Linked DNA regions of Homo sapiens: region 2 is linked to region 1. The links are contacts of gene promoters, found by promoter capture Hi-C in blood cells and fetal thymus (Javierre and others, 2016). All regions are on one chromosome and are shown on one strand. Each heading gives the region's core, a stretch centred on a gene start or on the middle of the fragment in contact. The rest is flanking DNA. Distances are from core to core; before and after follow the strand shown. Region 1 holds the start of EIF3B (eukaryotic translation initiation factor 3 subunit B). Region 2 holds the start of CHLSN (cholesin).

The links. Contacts are between HindIII fragments. The CHiCAGO score rates a contact against its expected background, and 5 or more counts as called.
Region 2: the fragment with the promoter of CHLSN here is called in contact with the fragment with the promoter of EIF3B in region 1 in 1 of 17 cell types (neutrophils); the score reaches 5.3 in neutrophils.

The regions. Positions count from the first base shown.
Region 1 is chr7:2,351,233-2,358,726 of GRCh38, reverse strand. EIF3B (eukaryotic translation initiation factor 3 subunit B) reads right to left here and starts at 3,900. Exons shown (of 19, transcript NM_001037283.2): 1 at 3,307-3,900. The coding sequence starts at 3,805. It also overlaps a transcript of SNX8 not described here. RefSeq lists silencers at 3,444-3,553, 3,604-3,693, 3,874-4,013 and enhancers at 4,814-4,883, 4,554-5,109. The HindIII fragment of the contact is 9,918 bases long and covers 1-7,494 here.
Region 2 is chr7:1,133,313-1,140,806 of GRCh38, reverse strand. CHLSN (cholesin) reads left to right here and starts at 2,560. Exons shown (of 5, transcript NM_001318252.2): 1 at 2,560-3,492. RefSeq lists silencers at 2,151-2,290, 2,491-2,940, 2,951-3,000 and an enhancer at 2,331-2,430. The HindIII fragment of the contact is 2,681 bases long and covers 1,287-3,967 here.

The DNA.
Region 1 (7,494 bases), core at 2,651-5,150:
TGAAACCTGTCCCTAATAAAAATACGAGAAAAATGATCCAAGCATGGTGGTGGGTGCCTGTAATTCCAGCTACTGGAGAGGCTGGGGCAGGAGAATCGCTTGAACCCAGGAGATGGAGGTTGCAGTGAGCCAAGATCATGCCACTGCACTCCAGCCTGGGAGACAGAGTGAGACTCCATCTCAAATAATAATAATAATGATAATTCCAACATACTAAATATGCAGATGTCCGAAAATATTCTTTACTGTATTTATTCTCAAAAGTTGGCTGGGCATGGTGGCTCACTCCAGCGACAGAGCAAGACTCCGTCTCAAAAAAACACTTTCGGAAATATTGAAAACTGACCCAGCATGGTGGCTCACGCCTGTAATCCCAGCATTTTTGGAAGCCAAGGAAGGCAAATCACATGAGGCCAGGAGTTCGAGACCAGCCTGGCCAACAAGGCAAAACCCCATCTGTATTAAAAATACAAAAAGTAGCCAGGCATGGTGGCACATGCTTATAATCCCAGCTACTTGGGAGGCTGAGGCAGGAAAATCGCTTGAAGCGGGGAGGCAGAGGCTGCGGTGAGCCATTGCACTCCAGTCTGAGCAAGAGAATGAGACTCTGTCTCAAAAAAAAAAAGGAAATATTGAAAATACTGCCTTAAAAAATAATCGCCGTTTTATTTTCAACGATGCTAAAATTGAGACGAACAAGAGAAAAAAAAAGGGAAAAAGGCAGTTGCCAGTCACTGCAGTGCCGGACACCCTGCTATGGAAACTAGTCAAATCCTAGGGTAACTTCTAAAGCACTTACCATACAATTAAATAGCCTGACAAGCCTGATCTGAATTTATAAGGCTGCAATAAAAAGCTCAACTTTTACACAAATTGGGTACTCCTTCCCACAAGCTCAAAGCGTCTAGTCTAGGAGAAACTGCCCACACGTAGGAAGGAAATAAATGAAGTAACTACACCATGAAGACACAACGCCTTGATCACTCTCAGCCCAAGCATCGGTTACACGTGGCTCATGGATTCCCAAGCGGTCTCCAGGAAAAACAGAAGAGAACAATTCTCAACACTAAATAGCAAATAGAAAGAGAAAGAATAGTTAATGAGCCAAAAAAGACATTTAGAGTTAAAATCCTGGATCAGCTGAAACATTAAACTGAAAGGATGATTACAGTTTGAGAAGCTAATCTGTACCAAAAAAGTAATAAAGCAAGACAGGGACTCCAGGCCACCTCTGGCCTGCTCCTTGGAAGACTTGGCCCTTCTGGAAAGAACTGATACAGTCACCTACGGTCTTGCACAATGACCCTGAAGGGCAGCTCTTCTCATAAAGCACAAAACCTGCGTTACCACAACCAGGAGGGCCATGACAAAGTCGGCTTCCTGAGCCTTAGTCCTCAGGACCAGATGCCTCACCTGTCACTCTGGCCAACACTGCACCTTCAGGGCCACGTGGGCCCGCTGAGGACCCACAGCCGTCACCCAGCCTGGCCAACCCTGTCGTCATATTAGCATCCTCTGACTCTTCCCAATTCCAGAAGTAATCTACGTATTAGAAATCTGTGAATTCGATGGGCTCAAATAATGCTTTTTAAAAAAGTAGCAGAATATCCAAGGGCTCAAAATAATCATTAAACCAAAAGTTTTGATTTTTAAACCATAATAACAATTGAAGCGTTAGAAAGAACACTGTTCTGAGCAGGAGAGTCTGGTGGGCCAAGCAGTATAGACCCACTGGGAATTCTCAGCAGCCTACTCCACCTTCAGGGACAAGTTTCCTCAGGACTGAGGGGCGTAGACTAGATGTTCCCAAAGTCTTTAGTTTGTGGTGTCCTTCCTGCTTTTCATGCTAAAATGTCTTTTATGAAAAAAAAAAGTGTAATATAGTAATGGTCACAGTAACTGACAGCGTTTTTATTTTTTAATTTTTCACTTTTTGAGACAGGGTCTCACTCTGTCGCCCAGGCAGTGGTGGGATCTAGGCTCACTGCAACCTCCACCTCCTGGGTTAAAGTGATTCTCGTGCCTCAGCCTCCCAAGTACCTGAGACTACAGGTGTGCACCAGCACACCTGGCTGACTTGTATTTCTGATAACCTTTTTTTCTTTTTCTTTTTTTTTTTTTTTTGAGACGGAGTCTTGCTCTGTCGCCCAGGATGGAGTGCAGTGGCAGGATCTCGGCTCACTGCAAGCTCCGCCTCCCAGGTTCACACCATTCTCCTGCCTCAGCCTCCAGAGTAGCTGGGAAATCCAGGTGCCCGCCACCACGCCCGGCTAATTTTTTTTTATTTTTAGTAGAGACGGGGTTTCACCGTGTTAGCCAGGATGGTGACCTCGTGATCCACCCGTCTCGGCCTCCCAAAGTGCTGGGATTACAGGCGTGAGCCACCCAGCCCGGCCCTCTGATAGCCTTTTAAAAATACGTTTAAATCATAAATTGGCAACTCCATGTTATTCCCGAAATTGTCCTGGTGTATCGCTGGCTACATCAGCAAGGGTATTTTTATTTTTCTCACTCTAGTATCAACTTAGCCAATCTGCAGAGGCTGATGTGTTCCCAACTTAAAGGCTTAAGAGAGCTAAAAAACAAAAGAAAAACAAATGAGACCAGCTCTCATCAGAAGTAGCTTCAGGAAAAAATCTCTGAGACAGGAAGCAAAAATATGCCTGTAAATCCAATCAAGGTTGAGATGAAGGCAAAGCTGGCTGTTATCGGCAATATTAAAACCTGGAAAAATAACTCTCTTTATAGATTTAGCGCAAGAGATAAAGAAAAATCAAACTGGAATTTCACAGGGTGCCTGTCCCACTAAGGAAGTCTCTGGAGATGGACAATTCTGAGGGGCAGGAGGACAAAATCACCGGCTCTGCCACAAGCTGTTCCTCCGATCCAGACCTTGGGAGGTCTGACTGGTCAGCTCTGGGGACACGTAGACCCGCAAACCTGCCACCGGGTCTTCGGTTTTTGCCGTACCCCCAGCTGCTACACTCACAGCACACCCAGCCATAACGGAGTACCCCATGTGCCCTCTCCCACCCTCTCAGATTTCTGGTTGTCATGCAAATGCCTGGCTCCCGAAGTGAGCTCCACCCTGTCCCCTTTTTCAGGAAAGAAAAGGGGAGGCGCTGGGCTCTCAGAACACTTCCAGGGCACTCGGGAACCCCTCCCTCGGTGGCTTCTCAGGAACACACGGACACCCTCGCTGGAACTTCTGCACGAACCGGTGGCACAGCCCGACGATATCTCCCACCTCGGGAACCCCAGCCACGCTCCCGCGCCGCTCGCCAGCCCCGCCCCGGGCGCCCTCACCTTCCTCGCTCACGTCGTCCACGAAGTCCTCGGGGTCGCTGAAGGAGGGCTCGTCCGCGTCGCCGTTCTCCAGCGCCCGGGGTTCGGCCTCGGCCGCTCTGCCCTCGTTTCCTCCCGCGTCCTCGGACACCGCCTGGGCCCGGCTGTCGGAGCGCTCGTCCCGAGCCTGCTCTCCTGGGGCCTCGCCCTGTGCCGGGACAGGGGGCTCAGCATGCGACCCGGGCAGCTCCTCGGCGGCCGGCGGCGAGGGCGACTCGGACGGGCCGGAGGCCGCCTCTGCCTCGGCCGCCGGCTCGGTCCTCACCTCGGACTCCGGCCCGGCCTCCGCGATCCCCACCTCCTCACTGGAGGCCTCGGTCCCCGCGGCCTCCGGAGCGCCGGGCCCCGCGGGCCGCAGCAGCCCCTCGGCTGGCGGCGGCTCGGCGGCCGGCTGCTGCTGGCCGGGCTCGGCGCGCTCCTCGGCCGCCTCGGGCACCGCCACGTTCTCCGCGTCCTGCATGGGCCCAACGCTGCCTACTCGCAGGGCTCCGCGGCCGCCGCGCTTCCGACTCTCCCAGGCCGCACCGCGCGCCGCGACGGCTACAGCCCAGCCATGTGCGTGCGACGGGGAGGCCGCACCAAGGCCGCGGGGCGGGGGGCGCACCCACGCCCTGGGGCCTCACGAACGACCCTGAGAGGACTCGCATCCACAAGACCGCGCCCGAAAATCATCAAACTGATATATTTGTGACAAGAAAGTGCTTAATTCCATTCAGCAAGGTTGTTTCTGTGCATCAGTAAACTCATGGGAGCATTGACCACCCCATGTGTGGCAGCAGATGGTTCCGTCCAACATGGCGTCCTCCCCCTTTCCTTTCCCGTCGGACGCTGCGGGGCGGGACTGAACTATTTGTGGAGCTGAAGGCGGGGACAAGAAATGATTTTAGTACCCGGAATGCTAGGAAAATGTCCTCTAACTCAACAGTTAATACCCTGGAAGAGTGGAGACTCAACAGGCGATTGCTCAGGGCGTCTGAGCCTTTCGCTAGGGAAACCGTTTAGTTTACGTTACTAAAGTCCCCCCTGTCCGTGTCTGTCACTTGGACTCGCCTACTGACTGAGCAAAAGGACAGACTACTTCAAAATAGAAAAGGAATTCGGGGCGAGCCAGAGAGGGCCCACACGACTAGAAGGACGACTGCCTGGCGCGATACAAAAATGTATGGAAGTTTCTTTAATCGCTTACCCCCAGTCCTTCCCTAGCGGCCGTCACTGCCTGTTTCCCCCCATTCGGGCTTTCACAGTGGTTCAGTCCATCCGAGGCCGCCGCCTTCAGCGCGGGACAGCGCGGGTCACGTGGGGGCGGGGGCGGGTCCTCGCCGCGTGGAGCTCGAGGCTGACTCCGGAGGGACCGGAGCGGTTCGCTCTGCGCGGGTGCTCACGGGACGGGCATTGGGTGCATGTGGCTTCTATCTTGTTTTTTGCCGGAGTGGAGGACAACCACTGGTTGGGGGATGTCTTAATCATCCTAGAAAACAACCCAGTGGATCACGCCTGTTATCCCAGCACTTTGGGAGGCTGAGGTGGGAAGATCGCTTGAGCTTAGGAGTTGGAGACCAGCCTTGCCAACATAGCACCACCACCCCCCGCACGCCAGCCCTCATCTCTACGAAAATTAAATAAATAAATAAAACAGGTGGTACCCAGAGGCTGGGGTGGAGAGTGGGGAGTGTTTATCGGGGACGGACCTTCAATTTGGGAGGATGAGAACGTTTTGGAGATGACGGTGGTGATGGTACAACATGGTGAATGTACTTGATGCCACTGAACTGTATACTAAACTTCATATTAAAATGGCTAGGCCCTGCGCGGTGGCTCACACCTCTCTTCCCAGTACTTTGGGAGGCCAAGACAGGAGGATCACTTGAGCCCAAGAGTTCAAGACCAGTCAGGGCAACATAGCGAGACCCTGTCTTCGAAAAAATAAAATAAAATGCCAAAAAGGTAAATTTTATGTATATTTCATCCTATAGTTTTTTTGTTTTGTTTGTTTTCAGAGATAGGGTCTCGCTCTGTTGCCCAGGCTAGAGTGCGGTGGCATAATCACAGCGCCGCTGCAATCGGGACCTTCCAGCCTCAAGAGAATCCTCCCACCTCAGCCTCCCAAAGTGCCAGGATTACAAGCGTGAACCACCGCGCAGGGCCTAGCCATTTTAATATGCAATTTAGTGTACAGTTCAGTGACATTAAGTACATTGCCAAGTACTTGGGACTGAAGGTATGTGCCACCGTGCCCAGCTAATTTCTTTATTTGTAGATAGCATCTCACTGTGTTGCCCAGGCTGGTCTCAAACTCCTGGCCTCAAGCAGTCTTCCTCCCTCAGCTTCCCAAAGTGCCGGGACTATAGGCATGAGCCACCACACCCATCCCATCCTAACGGTGTTTAAAAGAGCGAAAAAGAAGCAGAGTCTTCCCATGCCTAGTACCAGGTTTGACTACTCCTCATCATGCTGTCAGTGGTGTATCTTTGGGCAGGTCACTTAATGCCTCCACCTCAGTTTCCGCATCTGTACAATAAGGGATGACAATTTTTTTTTTTTTTATTTAGACGGAGTGTTGCTCTGTCGCCTAGGCTGGAGTGCAGTGGCACGATCTCGGCTCACTGCAAGCTCCACCTCCCGGGTTCACGCCATTCTCTTGCCTCAGCCTCCCAAGTAGCTGGGAATACAGGTGCCCGCCACCACGCCTGGCTGATTTTTTTTGTATTTTTTTAGTAGAGACGAGGTTTCACCGTATTAGCCAGGATGGTCTCGATCTCCTGACCTTGTGATCCGCCTGCCTCGGCCTCCCAAAGTGCTGGGATTACAGGTGTGAGCCAATACGCCTGGGAGTATGTTTTTTCTACATATGCATGCTTACAATAGGGCACAGTAAGAGATTAACAGCAATAACTAATAGAACAATTATAACAATATATTGTCATAAAAGTTATGTGGATGTGGTGTCTGGTGGTGTGTCTGTGTCTCTCTCTGTCAAATTTTCTTCATTATGTAATATTTTCCAACCTAATTGACCATAAGTAACTGAAACAGTGCAATGTGAAACTGGGGGTCGGGGGGGCTACTGTGTTTGGAAGCAGTCTTCCCAGATGTAATCAAGATGAAGTCAAAGTGGACGAGAGTGGACCCTAAATCAGTGATTGATGTCCTTATTAGAAGAAGGAAATTATGGCCGGGCATGGTGGCTCACACCTGTAATCCCAGCACTTTGGGAGGCCAAGGTGGGCGGATGCATTACATGAGGTCAGGAGTTCGAGACCAGCCTGAACAACATGGTGAAACCCCATCTCTACTAAAAATACAAAAATTAGCCAGGCATGGTGGCACATGCCTGTAATCTCAGCTACTCAGGAGGCTGAGGCGGGAGAATCACTTGTACCCTGGAGGCAGAGGGCGTAGTGAGCGGAGATTGCACCATTTCACTCCAGCCTGGGCAACGAGCAAAAATCCATCTCAAAAAAAAAAAAAAAAAAAAACCAACAACAACAACAAAAACTTACTCGATTTTTTGTTTTTATTATTATCTTTATTTATTTATTTATTTATTTTTTGAGATGGAGTCTCACTCTGTCGCCCAGGCTGGAGTGCAGTGGTGCTATCTCGGATCACTGCAAGCTCCACCTCCCGGGTTCAAGCAATTCTCCTGCCTCAGCCTCCCGAGTAGCTGGGACTACAGGCGCCTGCCACCACACCCGGCTAATTTTTTGTATTTTTAGTAGAGACGGGTTTCATCCTGTTAGTCAGGATGGTCTCACTCTCCTGACCTCGTGATCCGCCCGCCTTGGCCTCCCGAAGTGCTGGGATTACAGGCGTGAGCCACTGCGCCTGGCCTATTATTATTTTTTAACAGGGTCTCACTCTGTCACCCAGGCTGGAGTACAGTGGTGCCGTCGCACCTCACTGTAGCTTCAGTCTCACAGGCTCACCTTAGCTTCCTGAGTATCTGGTAGTACAGATCCACACCACCACATCGGGCTACCTTTTTGTTTTTCTGTAGAGATGGGGTCTCACTATGTTGCTCAGTCTGGTCTTCAACTCCTGGGCTCAAGCAGTTCTCCCAACTCTGCCTCCCAAAGTGCTACAGGCATGAGCCAGCAGGCCTGGCCTCCGCTGGTCTATTTCTGAGCCTCTGAGGTGAAGGAGTGGGAA
Region 2 (7,494 bases), core at 1,311-3,810, 1.2 Mb after region 1:
TTAGTCAGTATTCACACTGCTATTCAGACATACCTGAGACTGGTAATTTATAAATAAAAAGAAGTTGAATGGACTCACAGTTCCACATGGCTGGGGAGGCCTCTCAGTCTTGGCGGAAGGCAAAAGGCACATCTTACATGGCAACAGATGAGAGAAAATGAGAACCAAGCAAAAGGGGTTTCCCCTTATCAAACCATCAGATCTCATGAGACTTACTCACTACCAAGAGAACAGTATGGGGGAAACTGCCCCCATGATTCAATTATGTCCCACCAGGTCCCTCCCACAATGCATGGGAATTATGGGAGATACAATTCAAGATGAGATTTGGGTGGGGACACAGCCAAACCATATCAATTTCCAAAAATAAAAATGAAAAAAAATTATTTTCCTTTTTTCCTTTTTTTTTTTCACCCAGGCTGGAGTGCAGTGGTGTGATCATAGTTCACTGCAGCCTCCATCTTCCAGGCTCAAGCAATCCTTCCACCTCAGCCTCCTAAGTAGCTGGGACTATATGCGTGCACCACCACACCCAGCTAATTTTCTATTTTTATTTTTGTAGACATGAGGTCTTACTGTTTGCCCAGGCTGGTCTTGAACTCCTGGTGTCCATCCATCCTCCTGACTCAGCCTCCCAAAGAGCTGGGATTACAGGCCTGAGTCACTGCACCTGGCCATGATTCACTTTTTTTTTTTTTTTTTTTTTGAGCTGGAGTCTTGCTCTGTCGCCCAGGCTGGAGTGCAGTGGCGCGGTCTCAGCTCATTGCAACCTCTGCCTCCCGGGTTCAATAGGTTCTGATGCCTCAGCCTCCTGAGTAGCTGGGATTATAGGTACATGCCACCATGCCTGGCTAATTTTTGTATTTTTAGTAGAGATGGAGTTTTGCCACGTTGGCCAGGCTGGTGTTGAACTCCTGACTTCAAGTGATCCATCCACCTCAGCCTCCCAAAGTGCTGGGATTACAGGTGTGAGCCACCGCACCCGGCCGACTTCTAATGAACAGAATATGGCAAAAGCCTAGGGAAGTCACTTCTGAGATTAGGGTGCAAGGAGACTGTGATGTGCGTCTTGTGTGTGCCTCCTCTTGTGTGTGCTTGCACCGTCTAAGGCAAGCCAGCTGCAGTGTTGTGAGCTTCCTTGTGGTAAGGCCCATGTACCAAGGAACTGAGGGTGGCCTTTGGGCAGCAGCCAGCAAGGCTGAGGCCCTTCTCTAATGACCTTGGAGGACTGAGTCCTTACAATATCCGTGTGTGTGAGCTTGGGAGTGGATCATTCCAGATAAGCTTTCCGATGAAACCACAACCCTGGGGGGACACCTTGACCACAACTTGGTGAACCCTTGAGGCAAAGGCACAGAGCTTAGCCACGCCCACTTTCCTGACCGCGGATACCATGAAAAAATAAATGTTCTTTTAGGCTGCTAAATGTTGGGTTAATTTGTTATGCAGAAAAAGGAACCAAATACAATCTTCTACCAGTAAGGAAGAGTGCACCTTCTTTGCTTGTCACCTTTGGATTCCTGAGGCAACGTACATCATACTTGATACGGCTGCCAAGCACTTAACTTACTGGGTGACTTGAAAGCATGCTTTTTTTTCTTTTTTTTTTTTAGACGGGGTCTGGCTCTGTTGCCCAGGCTGGAGTGCAGTGCCTTGATCATAGCTCACTGCAGCCTCCATCTCCCAGGCTCCAGCGATCCTCCCACCTCAGCGTCCAGAGTATCAGGAACTACAGGCACGTGCCACCATACCCGGCTAATTTTTATTTTTTTAATTTATTTTTTATTTTTTAAAACAGAGTCTCATTCTGTCGCCCAGGCTGGAGTGCAGTGGCACGATCTCGGCTCACTGCAACCTCCACCTCCCGGGCTTAAACGATTTTCCTGCCTCAGCCTCCCGAGTAGCTGGGATTACAGGCACCTGCCACCACGCCTGGCTAATTTTTGTATTTTTAGCAGAGACGGGGTTACGGGGTTTCGTCATGTTGGCCAGGCGGGTCTCGAACTCCTGAGCTCAAGCGATCCGCCCGCCTGGGCCTCCCAAAATGCTGGGATCACAGGCGTGAGTCACCGCTCCCGGACACAAGCATTATTATAACACTACCCACCCTGTGTATTTTTTAGCACCTATCCTGATTTTTTAAATTCAGCACGAAGTTTAAGTCCTAGCCCTGTTGATCCCAATAGCCGTAGCTCATCCATTTCGACTCCGAGCCGAGCTCCATACCCTGGACCCTCGGCGGAGGCCCCACCCCGGGACGCCAGCCCGGCCGGGGCAGCTTGCACCCCAGACCCCCAAGCCCTGCGGGGCCCAAACCTAGTCATCTGCACTTGTTCTGGGCAGGGCGGGTTGCCTTGGCAACCAGCTCCTCTCCAAGCAACTCTAGGCCTCTAGAGATGGCGTCAGTAGCCCGCGCCCGGTCCTGGAACCGCCCCCCGTGCTGCCGCCGCTTGCCATTAGCCGGCGGAGAGACGGACGCAGACCTCGTCCAATGGGAGGCTCCGCACTCCTGAAGGCGGGACTAACGCTTACCTGGGGCGCGGGTCCCTGCCGGAAGGCGGCGTCCGCGACGCAGCTGTTCACGCTTAGGTGGGCGACGTGGGCGCAGGTGGGCGCAGGTAGGCGCGTGGGGCGGCGGCGGGGTGGCCGGCGGGTCAGGGCGCCAGGAGACCCAGAGCCCCGGGGCGGGCTCCCGCGGGGCTCCGCCCCCTCCACGTGGGTGCGCGGAGGCCCGGCGCGGCGCGACCGGGCGGCGGCCCTGGGGTCCGCGGTGCTGGGGAGGCTGGTGCGGCCGGTGCGGCCGGTGCGTCCCGGCGCGGGCTCCGACACCCGCACCCGCCTCTGGGTTAACTCAGCGCGGGCGAGTGGAAGGGACTCAGCTGGCTCCTAGGTTTCAGGCCGTCAGGGCTTGCAGTGGCTCTGGTTTCATTGTCTTTCTCTGAAGACGCCCTGATTGCCCTCCGAGGCTTTCAGCTCCCACTTTCTCTTTTTCAATTTTTGAGGCAGTGTCTCGCTGTGCCACCCAGGCTGGAGTGCAATGGCGTGATCATAGCTCACTGCAGCCTCCACCTCCTGGGCTCAAGCCGTCCTCCCGCCTCATCCTCCCAAGTAGCTGGGACCACATGCGCGCGCCACCACACCCGGATAATTTTTAAAAATGTTTTTTGTAGAAATGGGGTCTCACCATGTTACCCAGGCTGGTCTCGAATTCTTGGGCTCAAGCGATGGATCCTCCTGCCTCGGCCTCCCAAAGTGCTGGGATTACAGGAGTGAGCCAACGCGCTTGGCCTCACTTTCCATCATAAGCATGCTTTCCGTTTCCTTCCTTCCGTCATTCATTCATTCATTTTTAAAAAACGTTCATTGGGTTCCTCCTGCACTGTTCGGGGCATTGGGCTACAGCTGTCAACAAGTGGAGACAAGTCTGTGATCTAGTGAACTTCCATTCTGGAGGGGAGAGACAGATGAACAAGGTGCACAGAGCAGGTGATGGTAAGTGCCATGGAGAAGATGAGAACAGGGGTTTTGAGAATGGAAAGGAAGCAGGAGGAGGAGTGAGGCACCAGAACATTCCAGGTCGAGGAAACAGCAGGTGCAGGGGAAACAGCAGGGAGCCCAGTGTGGCTGCAGCCAATTTGGGAACAGAGAGAGAAAGAGGAGGTGAGTTCCCAGAGATGCGAGGAGGGGCCAGGGCAGTCGTGTGGACCTTACCAAGTGGCAAGGACCTTGACTTTCCCTCCAAGTGGAAGGGGACAGCTTGGGAAGTTTTTTGAGTGGAGGTGACACACCATCTGATTTAGGAGTTTAAAAGCCATCGTGAGAGGTGGTGGCTTGGACTGGGTACCTATGGGATCTTAAGGGAGTCACATTCTGGGTGTATTTCAGTGGTAAACCAACAGGAGTTTGTGGTGGGTTGGACGAGTATGTGAGAAAGAGAGGATTTATGGATGGACCAAGGTTTTAAGCTTGAGCTACTATGTGAACCTCATCAGATGGATGTTTATGGAGAGGATGAACACTAGGAAGCTCAGGTTTGTGGAGGGTGATCAGGGGTATTGATTACGAATTCTTAAGCTTGAGATGATATATGTGTAGATGATATATATAAGTACATATATATGGTTATATATATAGTTATATATATACACAGTTTATACACACATCCGCATATATATATTTATTTTTATATATTTATATATATTTATATATGTTTATATATGTTTATATATGTTTATGTTTATATGTTTATATATGTTTATATATGTTCATATATATGTTTATATATATTTATATATGTTTATATATATTTATATGTTTATATATGTTTATATATTTATATATGTTTATATATGTTTATATATATTTATATATATGTTTATATATATTTATATATATGTTTATATATATTTATATATATGTTTATATATTTATATATATTTATATATATGTTTATATATATTTATATGTTTATATATTTATATATTTATGTTTATATATATTTATATATGTTTATATATATTTATATATATTTTATATATTTATATATGTTTATATATATTTATATATATTTTATATATTTATATATGTTTATATATATTTATATATTTGTGTATATATTTATAATTATGTATATTTATACATATTTATGTATATATATTTATATATTTATGTATATATTTATATATATTTATGTATATATATTTATATACACATTTATATAAATTTATATATACTTATATTTATATATATTTATATATACTTATATATTTATACATATATTTATATATACATATATATTTTATATATATATTTATATATGCTTATATATTTATATATACTTATATATATTTATATATATTTATATATACTTATATATTTATATATACTTATATATATTTTTATATATACTTATATATTTATATATTCATATATATTTTTATATATTTATATAAATACATATTTATGTAAATATATTTATATATTTATTTTATATAAATAAATAAATAAATTGTGTATATATATATATATATATATTTCTTTTTGAGGTGGAGTCTCACTCTGTTGTCCAGGCTGGAGTGCAGTGGCGCGATCTCGGCTCACTGCAACCTCCACCTCGTATTCAAACGATTCTCCTGCCTCAGCCTCCCGAGTAGCTGGGTTTACAGGCAGGTGCCAGCACACCCAGCTAATTTTTGTGTTTTCAGTAAAGATGGGGTTTCACCATGTTAGCCAGGCTGGTCTCAAACTCCTGACCTCAAGTGATCTCCCCGCCTCGGCCTCCCAAAGTGCTGGGATTACAGGCGTGAGCCACCGTGCCCGGCCATACACATACATATATATACACACATGTAGATATATGTGTATAAACAGTGTAAACAGAGGTCAGGAGTTCAAGTATATATATGTGTATATATGTCTAGGTACACATATATGACCATGTATATATATATAACTATATGTATATACATACAACTATAGCTATATATATACACAGTTGAGTTGGCGTGTAGTTGAAGGAGAGGGTTAATAAGAGACTGTAAAGAGAGGAAACAAAGTCATCAGCGTCTAGTTGGTATTTGAAGCCACATGACTGAATGGGATCACGAGGGAGTGAGGAGGCTGAGCACTAAGCCTGGGTCCTTCAGTGTTCAAGGACACGGCGATTAAGAGGTGGGAGCAAAAGCAGAAGTTCTGCTGTCTGTGCTGGATGCCAAGTGAAAAATGCCTGTCAAGAGAGAAGGAAGGATCAACAGTCCAACGCTGTTAGGTCAAATAAGTTGCATACTGAGAGTTGGCAATGGGATTTAGCCACGTGGGTGTCATTGTGGTAGGGTGTTTGGGGCAAAAGCCTGATGGGATGGGGGAAGGAAAGGAGTCAGAGACAGGGCAGGTAGATGACTCTTTATGTATTTATTTATTTATTTATTTTTGAGAAGGAGTCTCACTCTGTAGCCCAGGCTGGAGTGCAGTGGTGCGATCTCGGCTCACTGCAAGCTCCGCCTCCCAGGTTCACATCATTCTCCTGCCTCAGCCTCCCGAGTAGCTGAGTAGCTGGGACTACAGGCACCCGCCACTATGCCCAGCTAATTTTTTGTATTTTTTAGTAGAGACGGGGTTTCACCATGTTAGCCAGGATGGTCTCGATCTCCTGACCTTGTGATCTGCCTGTCTCGGCCTCCCAAAGTGCTGGGATTATAGGCGTGAGCCACCGCACCCGGCCTATTTATTTATTTATTTAGAGACACAGTGTCACTCTGTTACCCATGCTGGAGTGCAGTGGCGCGATCTCGGCTCACTGTAATCTCCATAGTTTCAAGTGATTCTCCTGCCTCAGCCTCCCGAGTAGCTGGGACTACAGGCACACGCCACCACACCTGGCTAATTTTTGTATTTTTAGTAGAGATGGGGTTTCACCATATTGGCCAGCCTAGTCTCGAACTCCTGACTTCAGGTGATCTGCCCACCTCGGCCTCCCAAAGTGCTGGTATTACAGGTGTGAGCCACTGCGCTCAGCCTTGCCCCCCACCCTTTTAAGAGACAGTCTCTCACTCTGTCGCCGAGGCTGGAGTATCATGGCGTGATCGTGATTCACTGCACCCTTGAACTCCTAGGCTCAAGTGATTCTCCTGCCTCAACCTCCCAAGTAGCTGGGACTACAGGCACGCACCACCATGCCCAGCGAATTAAAAAAATATATATATATATTTTGGGGCCAGGTGTGGTGGCTCACGCCTGCAATCCCAGCAGTCCAAGGTGGGAGGATCACTTGAGCTCAGGAGTTTGAGACCAGTCTGGGAAACATGGCGAAACCCCATTCCCACAAAAAATACAAGAGTTAGCTACGTGGTGGTGTACACCTGTAGTGCCAGCTACTCCGGAGGCTGAGTTGGGAGGATTGCTTGAGCCTGGGTGGTCGAGGCTGCAGTGAGCTGTGATTATGCCACTGTGTTCCAGCCTAAATTTTGTCTCACAACAAACATTATAGCAAATGATCTTTCTCCCATTTATTTATTTATTTATCGTAAAGTAGCACCTGGGTGTTTTTTTTTTTTTTTGAGATGGAGTCTCATTCTCGCCCAGGCTGGAGTGCAGTGGCTTGATCTCGGCTCACTGCAATCTCCGCCTCCCGTGTTCGCGCCATTCTCCTGCCTCAGCCTCCCGAGTAGTTGGGACTACAGGCGCCTGCCACCACGCCCGGCTAATTTTTTTTTTGTATTTTTAGTAGAGACAGGGTTTCACTGTGTTAGCCAGGGTGGTCTTGATCTCCTGACCTCGTGATCCATCTGCCTCAGCCTCCCAAAGTGCTGGGATTACAGGCGTGAGCCACCGTGCCTGGCCGCACTTGGGTGTTACATTTTTAAATTTATGGTAAATAATTTGAGAGGGATTATAGTTTTTTTTTTTTTTTTTTTTTGCAGTATATCGAGGGATTGTGAAACCATCACCACAATCTAATTTTAAGACTTTTTCCTTCTGCCACAAGAAACCCTGTGC